3 separate regions of the Homo sapiens genome follow, and all the other regions are linked to region 1. Evidence: promoter capture Hi-C in 16 types of primary human blood cells and fetal thymus (Javierre and others, 2016). All regions are on one chromosome and are shown on one strand. The core of a region is centred on a gene start or on the middle of the fragment in contact, and the rest is flanking DNA. Distances in the headings are between cores, read along the strand shown. Region 1 holds the start of DIAPH1-AS1 (DIAPH1 antisense RNA 1). Region 2 holds the start of PCDHB6 (protocadherin beta 6). Region 3 has its middle 4.7 kb from the start of PCDHB15.

Evidence for each region. Contacts are between HindIII fragments. The CHiCAGO score rates a contact against its expected background, and 5 or more counts as called.
Region 2: a contact is called between the fragment with the promoter of PCDHB6 here and the fragment with the promoter of DIAPH1-AS1 in region 1, in 2 of 17 cell types (naive CD8 T cells and naive CD4 T cells). The highest score is 7.6, in naive CD8 T cells.
Region 3: a contact is called between a fragment that was not itself captured here and the fragment with the promoter of DIAPH1-AS1 in region 1, in 3 of 17 cell types (endothelial precursors, fetal thymus and naive B cells). The highest score is 13.7, in endothelial precursors.

Annotation. Positions count from the first base shown.
Region 1 is chr5:141,556,985-141,559,776 of GRCh38, forward strand. DIAPH1-AS1 (DIAPH1 antisense RNA 1) reads left to right here and starts at 1,327. Exons shown (of 3, transcript NR_038333.1): 1 at 1,327-1,503. The region is part of intron 18 of DIAPH1 (diaphanous related formin 1); the gene reads right to left. RefSeq lists enhancers at 305-1,157, 918-1,212. The HindIII fragment of the contact is 6,603 bases long and covers 1-2,792 here.
Region 2 is chr5:141,148,725-141,151,516 of GRCh38, forward strand. It overlaps PCDHB6 (protocadherin beta 6), which reads left to right and starts at 1,333. Exons shown (of 1, transcript NM_018939.4): 1 at 1,333-2,792. The coding sequence starts at 1,534. It also overlaps PCDHB@. The HindIII fragment of the contact is 6,099 bases long and covers 1-2,792 here.
Region 3 is chr5:141,239,327-141,242,118 of GRCh38, forward strand. It overlaps PCDHB@ and the pseudogene PCDHB19P. Among named protein-coding and RNA genes, the nearest start is that of PCDHB15, 4.7 kb to the right of the region's middle. The HindIII fragment of the contact is 3,709 bases long and covers 1-2,792 here.

The DNA of each region.
Region 1 (2,792 bases), core at 77-2,576:
GCGCCTGGCAGAGATCTTTTTAAAAGAAATTAAGTCTATAAATAAATTGCAAAATAAAAAATAAAAAAGAGCATAAGAGAGAACCTATAGAGACATCAACCAACTGCAATGTGTAGACTTTATTTGGCTCTGATTCAAATGAACTATTAAAAAAAACAACTATCATAAGATAATTTGGGAAATTTAATACTAACTGGCTATCTGATGATAAAGAATTTTTTAAATGTGATAATGGTAGTAATTATCTTCTTTTAAAAGTCCTAATTTTTTTGACACACATTCTGAACTGCTTAAGGATTAAATAATATGAACAAGGATACATGTAAAAATAATGGGTGGCAAAGACAAAGTTGATACAGGTATATGAAACAAGACTAGCTGTTGATTAAGTTTTTTAAATGGGTGATGGACATAGGGGTGTTCATACTAGTCTCTTTACATATATGTGTGTATGTGTGCGTGCATTTTTTTCACGGTTTCAAAAATAACATTTTTTAAAAAAATTCAGGACCATTTCCCTAGAGTCCTTGGGGCATTTGATTCTTCCCAGACAGCTAAGTGAAAGGGGTTCCTTTTTTTCTTCTTTTTTTGGGGGTATCTTTTCTTATCTGATCCTATAATTAAGAAAACTGCCCTAAACATCTCTGTAGCAAAAACACCTAAACCCAGGATTAGAGTCTAGATGAGGCAGAGGGGATGCCCTGGCCTGCTGCCTCAAAAGCTAGCACTCTGTCACTGTTAGTAGGTGTCCGGCAGCCAAACCATTTTGCTCTGTGCTCCGCTGGCAAGGACTTGCGGCATCGATTGCTCAGGATGCAGGCAGCCTGCAGCAAGGTGTGTCCCTGATGAGCAACTGCTGAGTAAAAGAGTACGTAGCTGCGCCTCAGCCAGTCTCCCTCCCTCTGCAAACCAGACTCCTCCTTTGCCTAACTCCTTTTTTTATTCCTGCGTCACAAATACAAAATGGAGTTAGCTGGGAGCAAAAACAATCTGTCTAAAATGGCTGAATGCGGTGGGGAGTGCCAGACAGTAAAGCGAAGGGAAAGGGCACCCCCTGGCGGCCAAGATAGGGAGTCTGTTTTATGTTCTTCACTACTTTTGCATTTCAAACGAATCAGTCCTACAGAGTCCAAGTTAATTTTGTCACAAATCTTGATGTTGAGCTCTAAAATTCAACTAATAGAAACTGAGGCACAAGAAGGGAAAATAATTTTCAGTCTCTAAAGACAAAGGGCACAAGTCAACAGCCCTGAGTTGCAGTTACTGCTTGGTTATGATCAGTAATAGTTTCTAGGAGACAACAGAACGGAAGGGAGGTCCTTTTATAGTACATGATTCCCCAGCTTCAATAATGGACTAATGACCCCCGGAATCCCACCGCTATAGCCTGCACTTCCCCAGGAATTCCTGTTTAAGGCGTCTCTCAATGAAGACCACAAACAGGAAATGGAGGAGTGGGGAGTTGCCTGACATCCTGGAAACTACGTTCTTAAAGAACTGCAGGTGGGAGTAAGTGGGATAGAAAAATGGGCTTTTCAAAAACTGTTGAGAACACGGACTGAGTCAGTTGTATCCGCACGGCTGGAAGACAGGCAGCTCCACCTAACCTCACTCACTTACTCAGGACCAAAACCCTACTTGCTCTGCCCAAGATAAAGCCTGCAGCATTTGTACCTATTCTACAGGGAACACCCTCCATTATCTTTATCTTACGCTACACCTCCCTTGAGTAAGCCAAGTACCTATGACTAAAAAAGAACATGTAAGAAAGGTGGAAAAAACAGAAATTATCTGGAAAAACTTGTGGGTACAAGTCATTAATGGTTGCCACTACTTAAATGAGGCTGCACAAATACGCCAGTTTATCCAACGTCCCTAAAGTGAGATAATGGCAACACATACAACACAGGTGCACAAAAATCACAAGTTGTTAAAAAAAAAAAAAAAAAGACTCTGGCATCACTATAGTTTTCTCTGAAGAAATAGGGTCTTTGTGGAAGAATCTTAGATCTCTCAGGCATATATGAAAGATCAGAACACTTAATAATCTCTCCAGGAAATAACTTTCTGTGAGGGTAACATAGCTATGGAATTGCCAAGTTCACCTAGCATACAATAAGCCATGTCTATTAAGCACTACATCAACTCTCTAATTCTGGGAAGAGGAGACAGTAAGAGGGTCTTAATGTTAATATAAGTGTTAATATAAGAAGCTGCCCAAATGGAGGACTTCTGATTTATATTCTTCATGGTTGTAATATACATAAGGGATAAATTCAGCACTTTAAAACAATCACTAAGGTATACATTATAGAAGGAAAAAATATCATGCCAACCGAATAGCAGTTATCCCTGCCCAAAGGTAACCGTATCACTGATACCTTGGCCAAAATATACAACTATCTGCAAAATCCCACAGAACTAGACCATTACAGATGTGCAAGCTGTAAGGAGGGACAGGGCAAACTGGCATTAATGAACAAACCTAAAGGACAAGAACAAAGCCACACAGAATCCCAAAGGAAGAACCAGATGCTGAGAGTTATAAAGAAGGGGACAGATATAAGTCTGGAAGGGTAGCAGAAAAGCAGTATTAAAAATCTGGGCACTTCACCAAGCATTTGGTCTTTCAGATAATATAGTCATTGAGTTTCCCACAGATACTTTCCCAGCACACCCAGGATGGTGACTCAATTAGGGAGTGCTAAAAAGAGGTCTGCTTCTAGGATGTGGGTGGGGAAGGACTGGAAGGACAGGCACTATCCCAAACAAGGACTCAGGTATGTCAGCAA
Region 2 (2,792 bases), core at 83-2,582, 410 kb before region 1:
TCACATTCATAATCTTTTGTTTTTCTGGCTACATAGAGGTGATTTTGAACTACAAGATCATCTCAGCTATTCAGAGTTTAGATTTTATTTAGCCTTATTTGTTTTGCCTAGCATTTATGTATTTGAAAATATCTTGATTTTTAATCTTCTATCACCTTGGCCCTTACCTGAAGTGAACTTTGTTTGAACTCAATTGATTTCACCTCTCAATAAATATGAAATTAATCTGAAATGAATTGAATTGTTTGGCATATTTTACCTCTTCTATGTGCACTAATCTATTTCACACATTTTCAGTTTGTTTAGAGATACATGTTCCAATGTATCTGAGTAGAAACTAGTGAGATGGGAATGGATATAGCCATAATATTCCATCATTGAATTCCATGGCATTCACTCAAATGTAACTCACCTGTTTTAACAGTACCTTAATTTGGCCTGTATTTATTGGACTTGGTGTTCTTTTTGCTGTGAGAAGACGGTGAAGGTGATTCTTGAATGTTTGTTTTCTGTGTTGCATCATGTTTGTACAACACGGTAATATATTTGGACCTTGATTAAATAATGTAAGAGGGGAATTTGATCAAAAAATAAAATGCACAAGACTGTTAAAACAATGTCTAATTCTATCCATGCAAAAATGGAGTAGAATCCTAAAATGCTTATGACAACTACTTGATTGCTTCTAGTCCCTCTTTTAAATACTTTAATTTACTTAGATACATGTATCATACGTACTTCTTGGCCTCAGTTTTCCTCCTAATAGCCTAATTGTTCTTTTTACTGTGCAGGCATAACTATATAACAAAGTAGGTTTTTTTTTTCATGCCATTTATGAGTCATATAATTTAGATAATTTATTGTTTATTTTACCATTATTGTTGCTAACAAACTTCGTTGTTTTGCATTGTTTGTTGGGACAATTAAATAGTGTACCTCTTGGACTAATAGATTAAATAGTTCATCAGAGATAAATTGCACTGCTGAAGCATCAAAGGAGAAAGACTGAAGTGTAGAATCTGCACTTCAATCTTTCTCCTTAATTAGCACCACCAGGGAATTTGATTCAAGTTCTAGAGGGGAGTGAACCCAGGAATTGGCTTAAAAACAAAAACATACACACAAAAAAACCAACGCTCGCAAGCAATTATTTATGCATGCGGTCCACGCACTCAGTTTGAGAAACACTGACTCGACTTAAAAGTCTTTATAATGCTCAGATTTCTGAAATGCTATTGACCTGAAAACATCTCATGAAGTTATTAGTTTGAACGCGTGGTGGCGGTACAAGCTAAGAGAGTGAATGAAAGCTCTGCAGACTCGGTGGACTCCGTTTCATCCAGAAGCCAAGTAAAAATACAGACCACGTTTACAGCTAAAGCTGAGATAGATGTGTCCGGGAAGGCAGTCGTCGCCAGACAAGTTGTAAGAACGAATTTAAAAATCTCTGCAAAGACATCCGAGAGGGTCGACGGTAGATGTGGTGATTGGGAGCTGAAAAGGATTTTTCTTCCGTATTCAGACATAATAGACATGATGCAAACTAAAGTACAGAACAAGAAAAGGCAAGTGGCTTTCTTCATTTTATTGATGCTTTGGGGAGAGGTGGGTTCTGAATCGATTCAGTATTCCGTATTGGAGGAGACAGAAAGTGGCACGTTTGTGGCCAACTTGACAAAGGACCTGGGACTGAGGGTGGGGGAGCTGGCTTCGCGGGGCGCTCGGGTTGTTTTCAAAGGGAACAGACAACATTTGCAGTTTGATCCACAGACCCATGATTTACTGCTAAATGAAAAACTGGACCGGGAGGAGCTGTGTGGCTCCACTGAGCCGTGTGTGCTACCTTTCCAAGTGTTACTGGAAAACCCCTTGCAGTTTTTTCAGGCTTCCTTGCGAGTCAGAGATATAAATGACCACGCCCCGGAATTCCCTGCCAGAGAAATGCTCCTGAAAATATCAGAAATTACTATGCCAGGAAAGATATTTCCTTTGAAAATGGCACACGATTTAGACACCGGCAGCAACGGCCTTCAGAGGTACACAATCAGCTCCAACCCTCACTTCCACGTTCTCACCCGCAATCGCAGCGAAGGCAGGAAGTTCCCGGAGCTGGTGCTAGACAAACCGTTGGACCGCGAGGAGCAGCCCCAACTCAGGCTAACGCTGATCGCGCTGGATGGCGGGTCTCCGCCCCGGTCAGGGACCTCCGAGATTCAGATCCAGGTTTTGGACATCAATGACAACGTCCCCGAGTTTGCTCAGGAGCTCTATGAAGCACAAGTCCCTGAGAACAACCCCCTCGGCTCTCTGGTTATTACCGTCTCAGCCAGAGATTTAGATGCAGGATCGTTTGGGAAGGTATCTTACGCCCTGTTTCAAGTCGATGACGTCAACCAACCCTTCGAAATAAACGCAATCACAGGAGAAATTCGGCTGAGAAAGGCTTTGGATTTTGAGGAAATTCAGTCTTATGACGTGGATGTTGAGGCTACAGATGGTGGAGGCCTATCAGGAAAATGCTCTTTAGTCGTCAGGGTCCTGGACGTGAATGACAATGCCCCTGAACTCACCATGTCGTTCTTCATCAGCCTCATCCCAGAAAACTTACCAGAGATCACAGTGGCAGTTTTCAGTGTTTCAGATGCAGACTCTGGACATAACCAACAGGTTATTTGTTCAATAGAGAACAATCTCCCCTTTCTACTAAGACCTTCCGTGGAGAATTTCTACACCCTGGTAACAGAAGGCGCGCTGGACAGAGAGAGCAGAGCCGAGTACAACATCACTATCAC
Region 3 (2,792 bases), core at 171-2,670, 320 kb before region 1:
TTCAGTTCCATGCTAGGGTTTCAGTATTCCAATGAATCCACAAGAGATACATAATTGCTTACTAAAAATGAGTTGAGATCTTCTCCAGTTGGGAATATGCTTAACCTGCTATTTCAGGTGAACTTAACATATTTTCTTCTGCATTTTACTTTTTACTTTAACTTCAGCCTTTATATCCATGATCTTGGCTGGCTCCCTCTTCAAGGTCTCAGTGACTCTCAGCTTCAACATGTGTGTATCTCAGTATTAACAATAGATGGTGATGCTCTTTATAAATTATTTTAGATACTGTAACAAGTCAACATAACAAGCTCACAGTCCTTAGGCAATATTCACAAATAAGTTATCCACAACTCTTAGGCTACCTATTGAGTTTGCATAATAAACCAGATTTAGCTAGTATATCACTTAAGTTTACACTCCTGAAATGTTAGAATGAATCTCTTCAACTACTGTGCTAGCACTCATTCGATCCATCAAAGAGAAGAGGCTTTCTTAACCGAAAATTGCGTTGCTGCAAGGATTGATTCCCAGAGCAGATTGCCTACCAACGCAACATAGGCATCCGGACCCTGAATGCTGTTGGTGTTGGAGAAATGGAGGCTGAAAAGGAGCACTTTCCTAGAATAAGGCAAGTGCTGCTTCTCTTTGTTATGCTGTCTCAGACTTGTGCGGAGTGGAATATACTGTGCGGAGTGGAATATACTGTAGCAGAAGAAACAGAAAGTGGTTCTTTTGTGGCCAATCTAACAAAGGACCCAGGGCTAGAAGTAAGAGTAATATACCAGTGGAGGCCTCGGGTCATTTTTAACAATAACAAAAAATATTTTCAGCTGAAACTTCAGACCGGAGACCTGCAAGTAAATGAGACATTGGACCGGGAAGAATTGTGTAGAATCACTGAGCCTTGTGTGCTGCAATTCCAAGTGTTACTGGAAGAACCTTTGGAGGTTTAAACTTTTGGTCAGTGACATAAACACAATTCCCCTGTATTCCCAGAAGCAGAAATTATTTTGAAATCATGGAAAATACTCCTCCAGGAACTGTGTTTCCTCTGAAAAATACACAAGATTTGGATGTGGCCATCAATAACATCCAAAACTACACCATCTACCCCTACTCCCATGTCCACGCTCTCACCCAAAATGGCAGTGAAGGCAGAAAATACCCAGAGCTGGTTCTGGACAAAGCCCTGGATCGGGAGGAGCAGGCTGAGATCAGGTTAACTCTCATGGCAGTAGATGGCGGGACTCCTCCCAGAACTGGGACTGCTCTGGTCCTCATTGAAATCTTGGACATCAATGACAATGCACCTGAGTTTGTGTAGCCACTCTATCAGGTGCAGATATCAGAAAACAGCCCCCTGGATTCCCTTGTTGCCACTGTTTCCGCTAGAGATTCAGACATGGGAATTAATGGTGAGATATTCTACTCATTTTTTATGGTGATGAAGAGATTTCTAAGACATTTGCACTTAATGAACGAAGGGGAGAAATTAAAATAATCAGAAAACTAGATTTTGAAAAAATTGTGTCATATCAGGTGGATATTAAAGCCTCTGATGGGGCAGGTCTTTCTGGAAAATGCACTGTCATAATACAGGTGGTAGATATCAACGATAACGCTCCGGAACTGACCATGGCTTCATTCACAAGCCCCATCCGCGAAAATTCTCCTGAGACCGTTGCAGCTCTTTTCAGCATTCAAGACCGCGATTCTGGGAAAAATGGAAGAATAGTTTGATCAATTCAAAATGATGTTCCGTTCATGCCGAAACCTTCCGTTGAGAATTTATACTGGCTGTTAACAGAAGGACCACTGGACAAAGAGATTAGAGCCGAGTACAACATCACCAACACAGCCACGGACTTGGGGACTCCTAGGCTGAAAACCGAGTACAACATAACGGTGCTGGTCTCCTACGTCAATGACAAAGCCCCCACCTTCACCTAAACCTCCTACACCCTGTTCGTCCGCGAGAACAACAGCCCCGCCCTGCATATTGGCAGCGTCAGCACCGCAGAGACTCGGGCACCAACATCCAGGTCACCTACTCGCTGCTGCCGCCCCGGAACCCGCACCTGCCCCTCGCCTCCCTGGTCTCCATCAACACAGACAACGGCCACCTGTTCGCCCTCAGGTCGCTGGACTACGAGGCCCTGCAGGAGTTCGAGTTCCGCGTGGGCGCTTCAGACCGCGGCTCCACGGCGCTGAGCAGCGAGGCGCTGGTGCGCGTGCTGGTGCTGGACGCCAACGACAGCTCACTCTTCGTGCTGTTCCCGCTGCAGAACGGCTCCGCGCCCTGCACCGAGCTGATGCCCCGGGCGGGCCGCCGAGCCGGGCTACCTGGTGACCAAGGTGGTGGCGGTGGACGGTGACTCGGGCCAGAACGCCTGGCTGTCGTAGCAGTTGCTCAAGGCCACGGAGCCAGGGCTGTTCGGCGTGTGGGCGCACAATGCACTGACAGGCTGCTGAGCGAGCGTGACACAGCCAAGCACAGGCTGATGGTCCTGGTCAAGGACAATGGCGAGCCTCCGCGCTCGGCCACCGCCACGCTGCACGTGCTCCTGGTGGATGGCTTCTCCCTGCCCTACTTGCCGTTCCCTGAAGCGGCCCCGGCCCAGGCCCAGGCCGACTTGCTCACCGTCTACCTGGTGGTGGCGTTGGCCTTGGTGTCGTCGTTCTTCCTCTTCTCGGTGCTCCTGTTCGTGGCGGTGCGGCTGTGCAGGAGGAGCAGGGAGGCCTCATTGGGTCGCTGCTCGGTGCCCGAGGACCCCTTTCCAGGCATCTGG